Linked DNA regions of Homo sapiens: all the other regions are linked to region 2. Evidence: promoter capture Hi-C in human tissues and cell types (Jung and others, 2019). All regions are on one chromosome and are shown on one strand. Each heading gives the region's core, a stretch centred on a gene start or on the middle of the fragment in contact. The rest is flanking DNA. Distances are from core to core; before and after follow the strand shown. Region 1 overlaps PRKRIP1 (PRKR interacting protein 1). Region 2 holds the start of NAT16 (N-acetyltransferase 16 (putative)). Region 3 overlaps LOC100630923 (LOC100289561-PRKRIP1 readthrough).

Region 1 (4,482 bases), core at 641-3,140, 1.2 Mb after region 2:
AGGTTTATACTTAAATGCTTTCATGTTTAAATGTTGCAGGACAAAGCAGTTCCAATTCCAGAGAAAATGAGTGAATGGGCACCTCGACCTCCCCCAGAATTTGTCCGAGATGTCATGGGTAATGGCTGTGTGTGTGTGTGTGTGTGTGTGTGTGTGTAAATATAATTTTTTAAGGTAGCTATAGGCTGGGCGTGGTGGCTCATGCCTCTAATCCCAGCACTTTGGGAGGCCGAGGCGGGCGGATCATGAGGTCAGGAGATCGAGACCATCCTGGCTAACACGGTGAAACCCCGTCTCTACTAAAAATACAAAAAAAATTAGCCGGGCGTGGTGGCAGGCACCTGTAGTCCCAGCTACTTGGGAGGCTGAGGCAGGAGAATGGCGTGAACCCAGGAGGCGGAGCTTGCAGTGAGCCGAGATGGCGCCACTGCACTCCATCCTGGGCAACAGAGCGACATTCTGTCTCAAAAAGAAAAAAAAAAGGTAGCTATAAAAATCCTGTAGTTGGTATTTGTTAAATCTCTGATGAGGGGAAATGTGTGTTCACATGTTCGTGTTTTGCTTTTACAATGACGGGGATATAGTTGCTTTTATTTGTTTTTCATTTGACATTGGTAAATTTAGCTTAAGGGCTATAGTTGCTTATGGTTTGGCACTATAGAATTTTCTCCTGCAGTATTGCGGTTTTTTTTGTTTTTGTTTTTGTTTTTGTTTTTCTTTTGGAGACAGAGTCTCACTCTGTCACCCAGGCTGTAGTGCAGTGACACCATCTCGGCTCACTGCAACCTCCGCCTTCCGGGTTCAAGCGATTCTCCTGCCTTAGCCTCCTGAGTAGCTAGGACTACAGGCCCGTGCCACCATGCCTGGCTGATTGTTTTATTTTTAGTAGAGACTGGGTTTCACTATGTTGGCCAGGCTGGTCTTGAACTCCTGACCTCAGGTGATCCGCCCGCCTCAGCCTCCCAAAATGCTAGGATTACAGCTGTGAACCACAGTGCCCGGCCATCTCCTGCATTATTCTTAATAACGCATTGTGGTTTTTTTGTAAATAAAAATAGTTTTATTATTTTGTTGGATCATAAATTAACATATCTACAGGCTTACCATGGAGATGGTGCGGGTTTAGTTCCAGGCAACCTAGTTAAAGTGAATGTCGCAATAAAGGGAATCATGTAAATTCTTTAGTTTCCCACTGCACATACAAGTTTTCTTTATACTCTACTGTAGTTTAATGTGCAATAGCATTATGTCTTTAAAAAGCAACATAGGCCAGGCACGGTGGCTCGTGCCTGTAATCCCAGCACTTTGGGAGGCCGAGACAGGAGAATTGCTCGAGTTTGAGACCAGCCTGGGCAACACAGGAAGACCTCATCTCTACTAAAAATGTAAAAATTAGCCAGGCATAGTGGTGCATGCCTCTGGTCCCAGCTACTTGGGAAGCTGAGGCAGGAGGATGGCTTGAGCCCAGGAGGTTGAGGCTCCAATGAGCTGTGATTGCGCCACTGCCCTCCATCTTGGGTGACAGAGCAAGGCCCTGTCTCAAAAAAAAGAAAAAAGCTGAAGAAAAAACACTTTTACAAAAATATGATTGTTCTACATATACAACTTTGTAAGCACCTTTATTTCATTTAATGTATCATGGATGTCTTTTCAACTCACTAGAAATTTAGCGTGTCAAATGTGAAATCATGGAGGAGGTGAGAAAGTCACTTAACCACAGTCTGCCCCTCCTGATACTGCATTTGAGTGGGATTTTTAGTGACTTTACATTCAACATTCATAGAACAAATAATTCACGACATCTACAATATGCCAGGTACTGGGCCAGTTCTGGATACAGTGGGGAGAAAGGAAGGCATGGTCCCTTCCACGACTTCCACTTTTTGTTTCTTTAGTCACCCTCGATTAAGGGTGACCTGTGTTGGTAACTGAATTTCATCTAGAACTGTGGACTGTTCTGGCTACAGGTTCAAGTGCTGGGGCCGGCAGTGGAGAGTTCCACGTGTACAGACATCTGCGCCGGAGAGAATATCAGCGACAGGACTACATGGATGCCATGGCTGAGAAGGTCAGTGAGCCAGAAGGCTGGCTGAGCCCCCATGTTTGGGCAGTGTGCGTGTACTTTCTTTAGAAAAAAGCATTTGAAGAGGCTGGGCGTGGTGGCTCAGGCCTGTAATCCCAGCACTTTGGAAGGCCGAGGCAGGGGATCACCTGAGGTCGGGAGTTTGAGACCAGCCTGACCAACATGGAGAAACTCTGTCTCTACTAAAAATACAAAATTAGCCAGGTGCATGCTTGTAATCCCAGCTACTCAGGAGGCTGAGGCAGGAGAATCTCTTGAACCCAAGAGATGGAGGTTGCAGTGAGCCAAGATCGTGCCATTGCACTCCAGCCTGGGCAACAAGAGCGAAACTCCATCTCAAAAAAAAAAAAAAAGAGAGAAAAGAAAAGAAAAAAGCGTTTGAGGAAGAATAGATACTGCTAGTTGTGGCTGGTGTGAGGTCTGCCTTCTACGGACAGCACAAAATGCAGAGTCTCTACTAAAAATACAAAACCCCGTCTCTACTAAAAATACAGAAATTAGCTGGGCGTGGTGGTGGGCAACTGTAGTCCCAGCTACTTAGGAGGCTGAGGCAGGAGAATTGCTGGAACGTGGGAGGTGGAGGTTGCAGTGAGCCTAGATTGCACCATTGCATGCCAGCCTGGGCGACAGAGTGAAACTCCATCTCAAAAAAAGGAAAAAAAAAATAACACCAAGAAATAATCATAAAATATTGTAATATTTAGCCATAAAAAGGAACAAACTACTGATCTGTACAGCAACTGGGATGAATCTTTAAACATGGTGAGTAAAAGAAGCCTTGCACGAAAGAGACCATATTGTGTAATTTCATTTATATGACGTTTTAGAGCAGGTACAATTAGTTTGTGTGAGAAAAAAAAACTGGTTATCTGGTTGGGGTCACGGTTGACTGGGAAAAGACGTATGAGGGGACTTTCTGGGGTGATCAAACTGTACACTCGAGATCTGGGCATTTGGTTCTGTGTAGATACTAACTTTATTTATTATTTTGAGATGGAGTTTTGCTCTTGTTGCCCAGGCTGAGAGCAGTGGGGTGATCTTGGCTCACTGCAACCTCCACCTCCCAGTTTCAAGTGGTTCTCCTGCCTCAGCTTCCTGAGTAGCTGGGACTATAGGCACAACCCCCATGCCTGGCTAATTTTTTGTATTTTTAGTAGAGATGGGGTTTCAGTATGTTGGCCAGGCTGGTCTTGAACTCCTGACCTCAAGTGATCCACCTGCCTCGGCCTCCCAAAGTGCTGGGATTACAGGCGTGAGCCACCATGCCCGGCCAGCTATTACTTTAAAAGGAAGAAGAAAAGCATACACAAATATGAAACCCTATTTAATAACGTGCATGCTTGAATGTTCAAGAATGGAACTTCCCGATGTCTGCAGCTTACTTTGAAATGCACCAAAACAAACAAACAAAAAAATGATGAATTAGTGGAGGAATAGATGTATGAGTAGAGCTCTGGAAGGGAGGAATCATAATTTTCCCCATTTTATAGATGAGGAAAATGAGGCTTGGAAACAGGACTGCTGGGAAGACATAATACAGTGCATACCAATAGAGGTATGGATAGATCAATAGGTGTGTGATAAAGAAAATCCAGCACAACAGGAATTGTTGAGTCAAAGAGCAGTGGATATATCTGCTGTATAATTCTTTTAACTTTTCTGTTTGAAATTTTCAAAATAAAACATTAGGGAAAATTTAAACCAAAGAGACAGCCAGGATACAGAAGAAAATATGTAAGAATTTATTGGAATGGCCAAAATTGAGTTAGAAAAAATTCTGCTTTGGGGGGCCAGCCGTGGTGGCTCATGCCTGTAATCCCAGCACTTTAGGAGGCCAAGGTGGGTGGATCACTTGAGGTCAGGATTTCAAGACCAGCCTGGCCAACATGGTGAGACCCCATCTCTACTAAAAATACAAAATTAGCCGGGCGTGGTGGCACATGCCTATAATCCCAGCTACTCGGGAGGCTGAGGCAGGAGAATCGCTTGAACCCAGGAGTTGGAGGTTGCGGTGAGCTGAGATTGCGCCATTACACTCCAGCCTGGGCAACAAGAGTGAAACTCTGTCTCAAAAAAAACAAAAACAAAAATTAACCAGGCGCAGTGGTGCACACCTGTAATCCCAGCTACTTGGGAGGCTGAGGCAGGAGAATCACTTGAACCTGGGAGACGGAAGTTGCAGTGAGCTGAGATTGTGCCACTGCACTCCAGCCTGGGCGACAGAGTGAGACTCCTTCTGAAAAAAGAAGAAGAAAAAATGTCCTGCTCTGGAAACAGAATGGGGTCATTGTTGTGCTGGCTGTCAACTGATACTTGCTTGTCCTGTAGTTTTTCCTGGCCCCTGGGTGTTGGTGGTTCTTCTTGTTTCTGCCATCTTTTGTTGGTAACAGTCTCAATCC
Region 2 (4,756 bases), core at 85-2,584:
ATTCTTTAAATCTCATAAATATGAATGATCTCTTTGGGGAGGGGGTGATCAGAGTCATAGCTGGGCATGATCGGAGTCAGAGCTGGGAATGCCGGCAGCCCACCCACCCGCACCCCACTCCCACCACACCCCACACACCTGAAATATCGATGCCCTTGAGGCCGATGGCTTCTTGACACTGGGGGAGGGAGGAGAGGGAGGGAAGGGAGAGCCCAGTCGCCGGAGAGGCGGAGACAAAGAAGGCAGCTGCACAAAGCGCCCAAAGATGAGAGCGAAAAGGACGGGAATGGAGGCAGAGAGCAGACAAAAGCGGACAGGAGATGCGGCCGCAGGGGACAGGCAGGGAAGCCGGAGGAGGCTTCGACACCGAATCACAGACATGACACCTCGTGACTCTGGGCCCAGCAGATGAAAAAAAAAAAATCCTAGCACGCACCCCCTCCCCTGGGACACTGTAAATAGAAAGCAGCGTGACACACCCCCTTCGCCCCGGGGTATGGGGGGCGGGGATCCGTGGAGGGGAAGGGGTCAAGGGGAAAAGAAAGTCAGAAAAAAGGCCGTAAGAGAACAACCTTGGAAACAGAGACGGGGAGAGGCGATGAAGTGGGGGCGGGAGAGAAGGCCTAGGGGGTGGGCAGAGGCAGGGGCCGAGGAAGATGGCCCAGCCAAAGGGGGTGGGGGGAGGGCCCCAGAGGGCCACAGTAGTGGAGAAGGGGGGGCTGTCCTGCAGGGTCTTCCCGAGTGAGGGTCTTCCCTCTGCCTCTACCCCGGATTGGGGGCTTGGGCTTGGGGGAGAGGGAGATTGCAAAGGGAGCGATCTGCTTGGCGGGGGTTCCCCTGGGCGCCGGACCCTGGGGACAGGTGGGAGCGACATGGCAACAGAGGGGGGCGGGGGAGCGCTTCTGGACACCTGAAGCGCAGCCTCTGACTCAGTTTTCTGGGTCTTCGGACTGGGAGGGGCTGGGCAGAAGGGGGCGCAGCCGCTTGGTCCCCCTGAGGGGCGGTGGCCTTCTGCTGCCCCATTCTGCGGTGGAGGAGCACGCTAGCCCCCTCCCCAGTCCCCAGGCCCGGCCGCCCCCCTACCTCGCCGGAGCCGGAGCTGGAGCCAGGGCCGAGATGCCGCAAAGCCAAGCGGGGCGGGCGGCGGGCGCAGACACCCCCGGTGCCAAGAGAGAGGTCCCTTTGGAGCCCCCAAGAGTCAAAGGAGGATGACGCGCGGGGACTCGGCCGCGCTGTCGGAGCCCGACTCTAACGTCGGTCAGCGCTGGGGCAGCGCCGCAGCTCCGTTGGCGACGCGGGCCGGGGCGCCCATCGGTTCAGGGGTTCGGGTGGCACGCGTGGCTCCCCCGGCGACGCTCCGGCGGCAGCTTCGAGGGGCGGAGACCCCGGCGACGCGGAAGAAACCCGGGACGGATCCGGAGCGGACTCGTGCCCTGCTGGCGGGGCCGGGGGTCGGGGTGCGCCCTGGGCAGCTGGGTGGCCTCAAGCCCTACTGGCGAGACTCCGCCCTGTGTCCCGGCTGGGGAGTGGGACTGAGGATGGTGGTGTCTCGGGTTTTGGTGGTGGTGATGCTGGTGTTGCTGGCTTAGTTATCTCCCCACCCCACGCCCAGCACCTCCGTTCTCTGTCCGGGGGTCCCCCACTGCCCTGAAGTACCCCTCCTCCAGGAGCCACCCCTCAATGGAATCTCCTCTCTCCATTATAAGAGCGGCTGGGAAGGGGACTCCGAGCCTTCGTCCCCGGAAACTGATAGAGGGAATCAGAAACCCTAGAACACCGGGAAGGCGAAGAGACATCAAGAGACAGAAGTTGAAAGGCTGAAAAGGGCAGAGGGAGGCCAAGATCTCTCCATCTTCTCACCACTGCGTGGGTGCCTGAGCACCCTGGTTCCCCGGGTGCACAAGGCCCCTAAATCCACAATGTACCCCACGGGACAGCAGGCAGAAAGACCTCCAGGTACACAGCGCACACCCAGGCACATTCACACAGACCTCTGCACTCAGGAGGCGCTGCACCCCACGCTGATCCTGGTGGCTGGGGAGGAAGAGGGAAGTGTGGAGCTGGGACCCGGGTGGGTGCAGCGCTGCCCCTGCTCTAATAAGGCGGTGGCCCAGGCTCTTAACTCCTACAAGGTTCTCCATCCCACCTATAAAGTGAGCTCAAGACTGGGTGCGGTGGCTCAAGCCTGTGATCCCAGCACTTTGGGAGGCCGAGGCGGGGGAATCACTTGAGGTCAGGAGTTCGAGACCAGCCTGGCCAACATGGTGAAACCCCGTCTCTACTAAAAATACAACAATTAGCCTGGCCTGGCCGGGCACGGTGGCTCATGCCTGTAATCCCAGCACTCTGGGAGGCCGAGGTGGGAGGATCACCTGAGGTCAGGAGTTCAAGACCAGCATGGCCAACATGGCGAAACCCCGTTTCTACTAAAAATACAAAAATCAGCCGGGCACAGTGGCCTGCACCTGTAATCTCAGCTACTTGGGAGGCTGAGGCAGGAGAATCGCTTGAACCCGGGAGGCAGAGATTGCAATGCGCCGAGATCGTGCCACTGCACTCCAGCCTGCGCGGCAGAGCGAGAATCCAACTCAAAATAAAATAAAATAATAAATAAAGTGAGATCAGAACACCTTCAGTTCTACCCTGTAAGGAGCCAGGAAAGTGATGGACAAAGCCCTTTAGCAACTGTAAACTGCTTTGGAGATGCAGGGAATAATTTTTTTTTTTTTTTTTTGAGAGGAGTCTCACTCTCGCCTAGGCTGGAGTGCAGTGGCGCGATCTCGGCTCACTGCAAGCTCTGCCTCCCGGGTTCATGCCATTCTCCTGCCTCAGCCTCCCCAGTAACTGGGACTACAGACGCCCGCCACCACCCCCGGCTAATTTTTTGTATTTTTAGTAGAGACGGGGTTTCACCGTGTTAGCCAGGATGGTCTCGATCTCCTGACCTCGTGATCCGCCCGCCTCGGCCTCCCAAAGTGCTGGGATTACAGGCGTGGGCCACCGTGCCCGGCCGATGCAGGGAATAATGTTAAGGCCTTTCAAGGTCTGCTGGAGTCCTCTCTCCAGGGGCCGCCCAGCTCTCATGCTCCCCCTACCCTCTCCCCCACCCCAAAATTCATTGTTCACCCATCTTATTCCATTTTTTCTTTCTTTACTTTCCGAGGTGATAACTTCATAATCAGGCAAACTGATCCCATTGGATGTGCCAATGCAATAAGAAGGAAGGTCATGTTCCTGGAATCCCACATACAGGAATTCCAACCGAGGGTTAAAGGGCTAAACAGGAATAACACCAAGGGTTAAAGGGATGAGAATCCCGACTTCTAGGCTGAGGCAGGGCAAAATGCAACTGACAAGTTACTCAACATTTTTTAATAGGACTTCCCCCCATTTCTGATCTCTGAAAGTGCTAACACACTGTGCGTCTCACCAAACTGCAGATTGCAGTTAAGGTGCCATATGCTTCATGATGGGAAAGAACTTCAAAAAGTTACAGGTTTCAAGGAAAAAATCACTAGTGGCCAAAGGGAGAGACCATCATATGCTAATCCCGCCCCTTTCGCCAGAAGCCACACCTTCCACCAACAGAAACTCTTGGATTGGCCCAACCCTCACACACTTCCAGTTCCATCAGCCATTCAGAATTAAAAGTTTACCAACGTTTCGGCCCCTCCCCTTAAGTCCAAGCCACTCAGAAGCAAGTTGTCACTGTAAGTCCCGCCTCCAAACAGCTCACTGGGCCAATGGAAAGCCATCTTGTTCCAGGCTTCATTCTCACACATCTAGGAGAGCCGGTTTTCCTCTCAGCTAGAGAACAAGTGGCTTTCAGCTGCCTGAGTGCTCAGAGGTTGCAGGGAGGCGGCCTATTCTGGGATGGAGGAGAGATCTGGCTGAGAGGAGACAGCCCTGGCGTGGCTGGCCTAGGTTCCAGGATTACCCTCTACCCAGTAGAGTGGTGGTGATGTGGGGTGAACCACTGAACCACCCAATGTTTACTAAGCACTGTAGCTTAATCTCCATAACGCTGTAGGGGAGGGCGGATTGTTTAGCCATTTTACAGAAGAGCAAAGTATATTCTGAGAAGGCTATGGACCAGATCCCATAGGAATTTTTTTTTTTTTTTTTTTTTTTTTGAGACAGTCTCTCTCTGTCGCCCAGGCTGGAGTGCAGTGGCGCGATCTTGGCACACTGCAGCCTCCGCCTCCCGGGTTCAAGCGATTCTCCGGCCTCAGCCTCCTGAGTAGCTGCACCACCACGCCCAGCTAAATTTTTTTTTTTTTTTTGAGACGGAGTTTCGCTCTTGTTGCCCAGGCTGGAGTGCGGTCGCGTGATCTCGGCTCACCGCAACCTCCGCCTCCCGGGATCAAGAGATTCTCCTGCCTCAGCCTCCCAAGTAGCTGGGATTACAGGCATGTGTCACCACGTCCAGCTAATTTTTGTATTTTTAGTAGAGACGGAGTTTCTCCATGTTGGTCAGGCTGGTTTTGAACTCCCAACCTCAGGTGATCCACCCGCCTCGGCCTCCCAAAGTGCTGGGATTACAGGCATGAACCACCGCACCCGGCCATGCCCAGCTAATTTTTGTATTTTTAGTAGAGACAGGGTTTCACCATATTGGCCAGGCTGGTCTCGAACTCCTGACCTCAAGTGATCCTCCTGGCTCAGGCCTGTAATGCCAACACTTTGGGAGGCCGAGGCAGGAGGATCTCTTGAGGCCAGGAGTTTGAGACCAGTCTGGGCAACATAGTGAGACCTT
Region 3 (4,913 bases), core at 1-2,500, 1.2 Mb after region 2:
CCTCAGCCTCCCAAAGTGTTGGGATTACAGGCGTGAGCCACCGTGCCCGAGCACTTTTTTTTTTTTTTTTTTGAGATGGAGTCTCACTCGTCGCCCAGGCTGGAGTGCACTGGCACAATCTCGGCTCACTGCAAACTCCGCCTCCTGGGTTCCCTTCATTCTCCTGCCTCAGCTTCCCGAGTAGCTGGGACTACAGGCACCCGCCGCCATGCCCGGCTAATTTTTTGTATTTTTAGTAGAGACGGGGTTTCACCGTGTTAGCCAGGATGGTCTCGATCTCCTGACCTCGTGATCCGCCCGCCTTGGCCTCCCAAAGTGCTGGGATTACAGGCGTGAGCCACCGCGCCTGGCCGCCCGAGCACTTTTACTTTTCCTTAGTTATATTCCTCTAATTGTTTTCTCTTCTCTAGTTGTAGATAATGAGCATTTTATTAATACCTTGTTCTTGATCTTAATGGGAAGGTATGTAGTTTTTCCCTGTTAAGTAAAATCCTGACTTTTGGACCAAGAAGACTGAGGCATAAGAGTTTATGTGTGTGCGTGTGTGTGTGCACGTGCATGTGCGTGTGTGTGTATATACACAAACTATATATGTGCTTGTGTGTAATTGAAATACATATGTCACATATATATCATACGTACTACTGCATATTAGGGTGTAATATTTATATTTGTATATATACATAATATTGATGTTAATGAAGCATCCATCAGTTTCTGTTTTCTTTAGTTTGTTTTTTTAAATCAGGTTTTTCTGTCAAGCTTTTTCAAGTATCTTCATGGATACAAGATTTTTCTTCTTTGCTGTGTTATAGTGGCCTATCATATTAATAGGTTTCCAAATATTAAACTAGTCTATATTATTGGAATAAGTCCTATTTGTCTGTTGTATATTATGTTTTTAATCTGGTACTGGATTTTGTTTGGTTATGTTTCATTTTGGGTATTTGTATTGATATAAGTGGTATTGTATTGGCATGTAATTTTATGTTATTTATTGGCTGATCCATCTTCTAACCCCTCCACCTCCTTGCCTTCTGGACTAACTTAACCTAGAAGGTTATTACTCTCTCTCGGTGATTTTATCAGCTCCTGTGGCCTGCCTGTGGATAAGCTTGGATGTTCTGCTTTAGTTTCTCAGCCCACCAGCCTAGCGGCTCTGCCTCTGCTATCTCTTGGGATCTACATTGTCCTAGCTATATCACTGGGTTTGAACCCCTTGTTGATATCTTCTTTATAAATAACAGGATAATGCAACATGCTTACTGGGCACTTCCTTTTTCTAAACTACAAGTTTGGGCAGGGTATGCTGGCCCAAGACTGTAATCCCAACACTTTGGGAGGCCAAGGCAGGTGGATTGCTGGAGCCCAGGAGTTTTGCATTTTTCTTTTTTTTTTCTTGAGACAAGGTCTCGCTCTGTTGCCTAGGATGGAGTGCAGTGTCGCATTTACAGCTCACTGCAGCCTTGACCTCCCAGGCTCAAGCCATCCTCCTGCCTTAGCCTCCCAGGTAGCTGGAACTACAGGCATGTGCCATGATGCCCAGCCAATTTTTAAAAAAAATTTTATTTTTAGTAGAGATGAGGTTCTTACTATGTTGCCCAACGTGGCCTCGAACTCCTGAGCTCAAATGATCCTCCCATCTCGGCCTCCCAAAGTGCTAGGACTATAGGCATGAGCCACCATGCCCAGCCCCAACCTCTTAAAAATTGAAGCTGCTTCATGTTTGCCATTGGTACTTTTTACACCTCATCATATTCTTCTTCCCCTTCATCCCATAGAATACACAATTCATCTTTAAGGACTTCAAGTTAACTGAGTCTGTGAAGCCTAACTGATGGCATAAAGTTAAAATAATTTGATCCTCTTTTGTTAAATCATTCTGCACCTTGTCTGCATTACTCTAATAACAGCTTTGGGCATTCATTCATTTAATGAATATTTATTGCTGTGAGATTGAGATGTTTGAGATAAAACTCAGCCATGCAGATAGCCAGAGGCCACTGGCTATGAGAATAAAAAAGACAAAAGAACAAGGAGCTGAAACTAGGTGAGAGCCCCAGAGCAGTGAGTTAGGAAGAAGAAGACCAGGAACTGAGTGGTGGGCACTCCAACATGAAGAGGTCCAGGAGAAGGGGAGGGCCTGGCAGCAAAGAAGTGACAAGGAGTAAAATGCTTGTGTTTGTTTACATGTTTATCTCCTTATTAGGTTGTCTGCTTTCTCAGAGCAGGCATGGTGTTTCACTCATCTCATGTCCCCAAAACTCAGTTCAGTTGCAAAATAGGAGCTCAGTTGTGTTTTGGGTTTTTATTTTTGTGGGGTAATATATATTTTATATATATATATCCCCAAAGGATATATGTTTCCTGTATGATTTCCAATATGATTTCCCTTCCATAATCTGTAACATAAAATAAGGTATACAATGTTCATGGTTAACTTTACGAGTGAGCTTTGTAAAATGATATCCCCCTATCCCTTTTCCATATCTCCCAATTCTGATCATGTTGCCATTACAGGGGCCAGTGTCATTCAAAGATGTGGCTGTGGATTTCACCCAGGAGGAGTGGCAGCAACTGGACCCTGATGAGAAGATAGCATACGGGGATGTGATGTTGGAGAACTACAGCCATCTAGTTTCTGTGGGTGAGGATAGCTTGCTTTCTGAATGCTCTCAGTTGAATGGGGTTTTATCCTTGAGTTTGAAGAAATAAGTGATGACACCATTTAATTCCTTGTGGGCACTAGCTGGAGCGTTTATATTATTCTTCATTGAAAGGTTCTAACTTTGATAAGGTAAAAAATGGAGCACTTCTGTTATGCAGCTTATGAGGTGGCAACATCTTGTACTTTGGAGATTCTGAAGCCAAGCAGCTTGCCCAAGTCCTTCTTCTTTTCCCATTAACAGGGTATGATTATCACCAAGCCAAACATCATCATGGAGTGGAGGTGAAGGAAGTGGAGCAGGGAGAGGAGCCGTGGATAATGGAAGGTGAATTTCCATGTCAACATAGTCCAGGTAAGTTAGTAGATTATCACATGTTAAAAAACACTCATCCCCGACCTTTGGGAGTGACTAAAGAGTTGTTTATATGTACTCGGTACCCTCAGTAACACCTCCCAACCCCCAAATATCACTTTCCTTCCCACACACATACCACATACATGAACTCTTTTGTTGATTTTACATTTGATTTACATTGGTAGGGATTTTTTCATTCTAACCTGTACTGGGGACCCAGTCACTTCCTCTTTCTCCAGCATTATCGCTCACTTATTTACTCCCTCGCCATTAGAGAATTGTTGTGAGTTTTTTGTTTGTTTGTTTGTTTGTTTGTTTTTTGGAGACAGAGTCTTGTTCTATCACCCAGGCTGGTGTGCACTGGTATGTTCTCGCTCACTGCAACCACTATCTCTCAGGTTCAAGCGATTCTCCTTCCTCAGCCTCCTGAGTAGCTGGGATTACAGGCACATGTCACCACGCCTGGCTAATTTTTGTATTTTTAATAGAGACTGGGTTTCACCATGTTGGCCATGCTGGTCTTGAACTTCTGGCCTCAAGTGATCTGCCCACCTCAGCCTTCCAAAGTGCTGAGATTACAGTCCTGAGCCACTGCTTTCGGCCTTACAGAATTGTTTTGTTTTGGGGCATTCAGAAGTCTGACATAAAAATTAACTTGAGACTTTTAGGTTCATTCTTTTAATCTTCCATTTTCTTTCCTTCCTTGCTTTAAAAATACCTTGGACTTATTTTCTGCCCTCGATTTTATTTACTTCTTTAGGCATTCAGATACCAAAACCTCGTCCTCTACCTATGCTTGCGAATTGAGTCACAGCTTGTGGTTTACCTTATTTCCCCAAGTCCATGCTCAGTTGATGTGATGATATAGCGCTCCCTCAGCTTTCCCCTCTTTCCCCAGTGCTCATTTATGACCCGTCTGTGTGTTCATTTCCCCTTCCCCATAACTGGCATCATGCTCTGTCCATAGTAGACATTCAGGAAGTGTGAATTTCATAAGGGAATGTTGGTTCCTTTTCTTGCCTTTTCAGGAGTGTCCCCCTAGAACCCGTTTTCTACTTTTTTGGTTTTCTTTGTATCCCTTAAAAGAGTTTTTCTAATCTCAACTTCTAAGACCTTTTTTCTTGTGTATTTTTGCAGTTTGCCTCCAGATTGATATGTCTGACACTTTTAACCTAGTTGAATATTTTACTTGACAACATAGCAGTACCAGTGAGATAGTTCACTTCCTTCTTTCTCAGAATGTCTGATGATAAACTGTGCACATTCCAAAATCATGAATTCTGTCTACCTTCCTCACCTCCCAGTATTTGATTGTGTTAGTCTCCTCTCCATTGTTTGTGTTCTTTGTCTTCTGTGAAATGCCTTGCAGATCATCAGCACATTGTTTCTTTTGACATTAGTGTTCAGTATTCTCCCATACCTGGATTACAGTGGATCCATCTTCCATTCAAAGGATCATGGTCCTTTTCCTTCATCTGCATTTTACTGGCCCAGATAATATATATTTTCCCTCCCTTTCTTCCTCCCCTCCCCTCCCTCGCTTCCTTCCTTCCTTCCTTTTTGAGATGGAGTCTCACTCTGGTCACCCAGGCTGGAGTGCAATGGCATGATCTCGGCTCAGTGCAGCCTCCCCCTCTCAGGTTCAAGGGATTCTCCTGCCTCACCCTCCCAAAGCAGCCGGGATTACAGGTGCACACCACCATGCCTGGCTAATTTTTATATTTTTAGTAGAGATGGGGTTTCACCATATTGGTCAGGCTCGTCTCTAACTCCTGACCTTGTGATCCGCCTGCCTCATCCTCTCAAAGTGCTGGGATTACAGGCCTGAGCCACTGTGCCCAGCCTATTTATTTATTGAGACAGAGTCTCACTCTGTCACTGAGGCTGGAG

Evidence for each region. Contacts are between HindIII fragments. The study calls those that stand out against the background at their distance.
Region 1: a fragment that was not itself captured here is called in contact with the fragment with the promoter of NAT16 in region 2 in 1 of the 25 tissues and cell types used here (lymphoblastoid cells).
Region 3: a fragment that was not itself captured here is called in contact with the fragment with the promoter of NAT16 in region 2 in 1 of the 25 tissues and cell types used here (dorsolateral prefrontal cortex).

The regions. Positions count from the first base shown.
Region 1 is chr7:102,397,581-102,402,062 of GRCh38, forward strand. PRKRIP1 (PRKR interacting protein 1) reads left to right here. Exons shown (of 6, transcript NM_024653.4): 2 at 40-118; 3 at 1,968-2,068. It overlaps LOC100630923 (LOC100289561-PRKRIP1 readthrough), which reads left to right. Exons shown (of 9, transcript NR_038967.1): 5 at 40-118; 6 at 1,968-2,068. Among named protein-coding and RNA genes, the nearest start is that of PRKRIP1, 3.5 kb to the left of the region's middle. The HindIII fragment of the contact is 8,345 bases long and covers 1-4,482 here.
Region 2 is chr7:101,178,959-101,183,714 of GRCh38, forward strand. It overlaps NAT16 (N-acetyltransferase 16 (putative)), which reads right to left and starts at 1,335. Exons shown (of 4, transcript NM_198571.3): 1 at 1,084-1,335. RefSeq lists an enhancer at 1,116-1,838 and silencers at 1,210-1,504, 3,572-3,789. The HindIII fragment of the contact is 15,471 bases long and covers 1-4,756 here.
Region 3 is chr7:102,373,303-102,378,215 of GRCh38, forward strand. LOC100630923 (LOC100289561-PRKRIP1 readthrough) reads left to right here. Exons shown (of 9, transcript NR_038967.1): 3 at 2,521-2,647; 4 at 2,910-3,020. It also overlaps the pseudogene LOC100289561. Among named protein-coding and RNA genes, the nearest start is that of SPDYE6, 19 kb to the left of the region's middle. The HindIII fragment of the contact is 5,084 bases long and covers 1-3,792 here.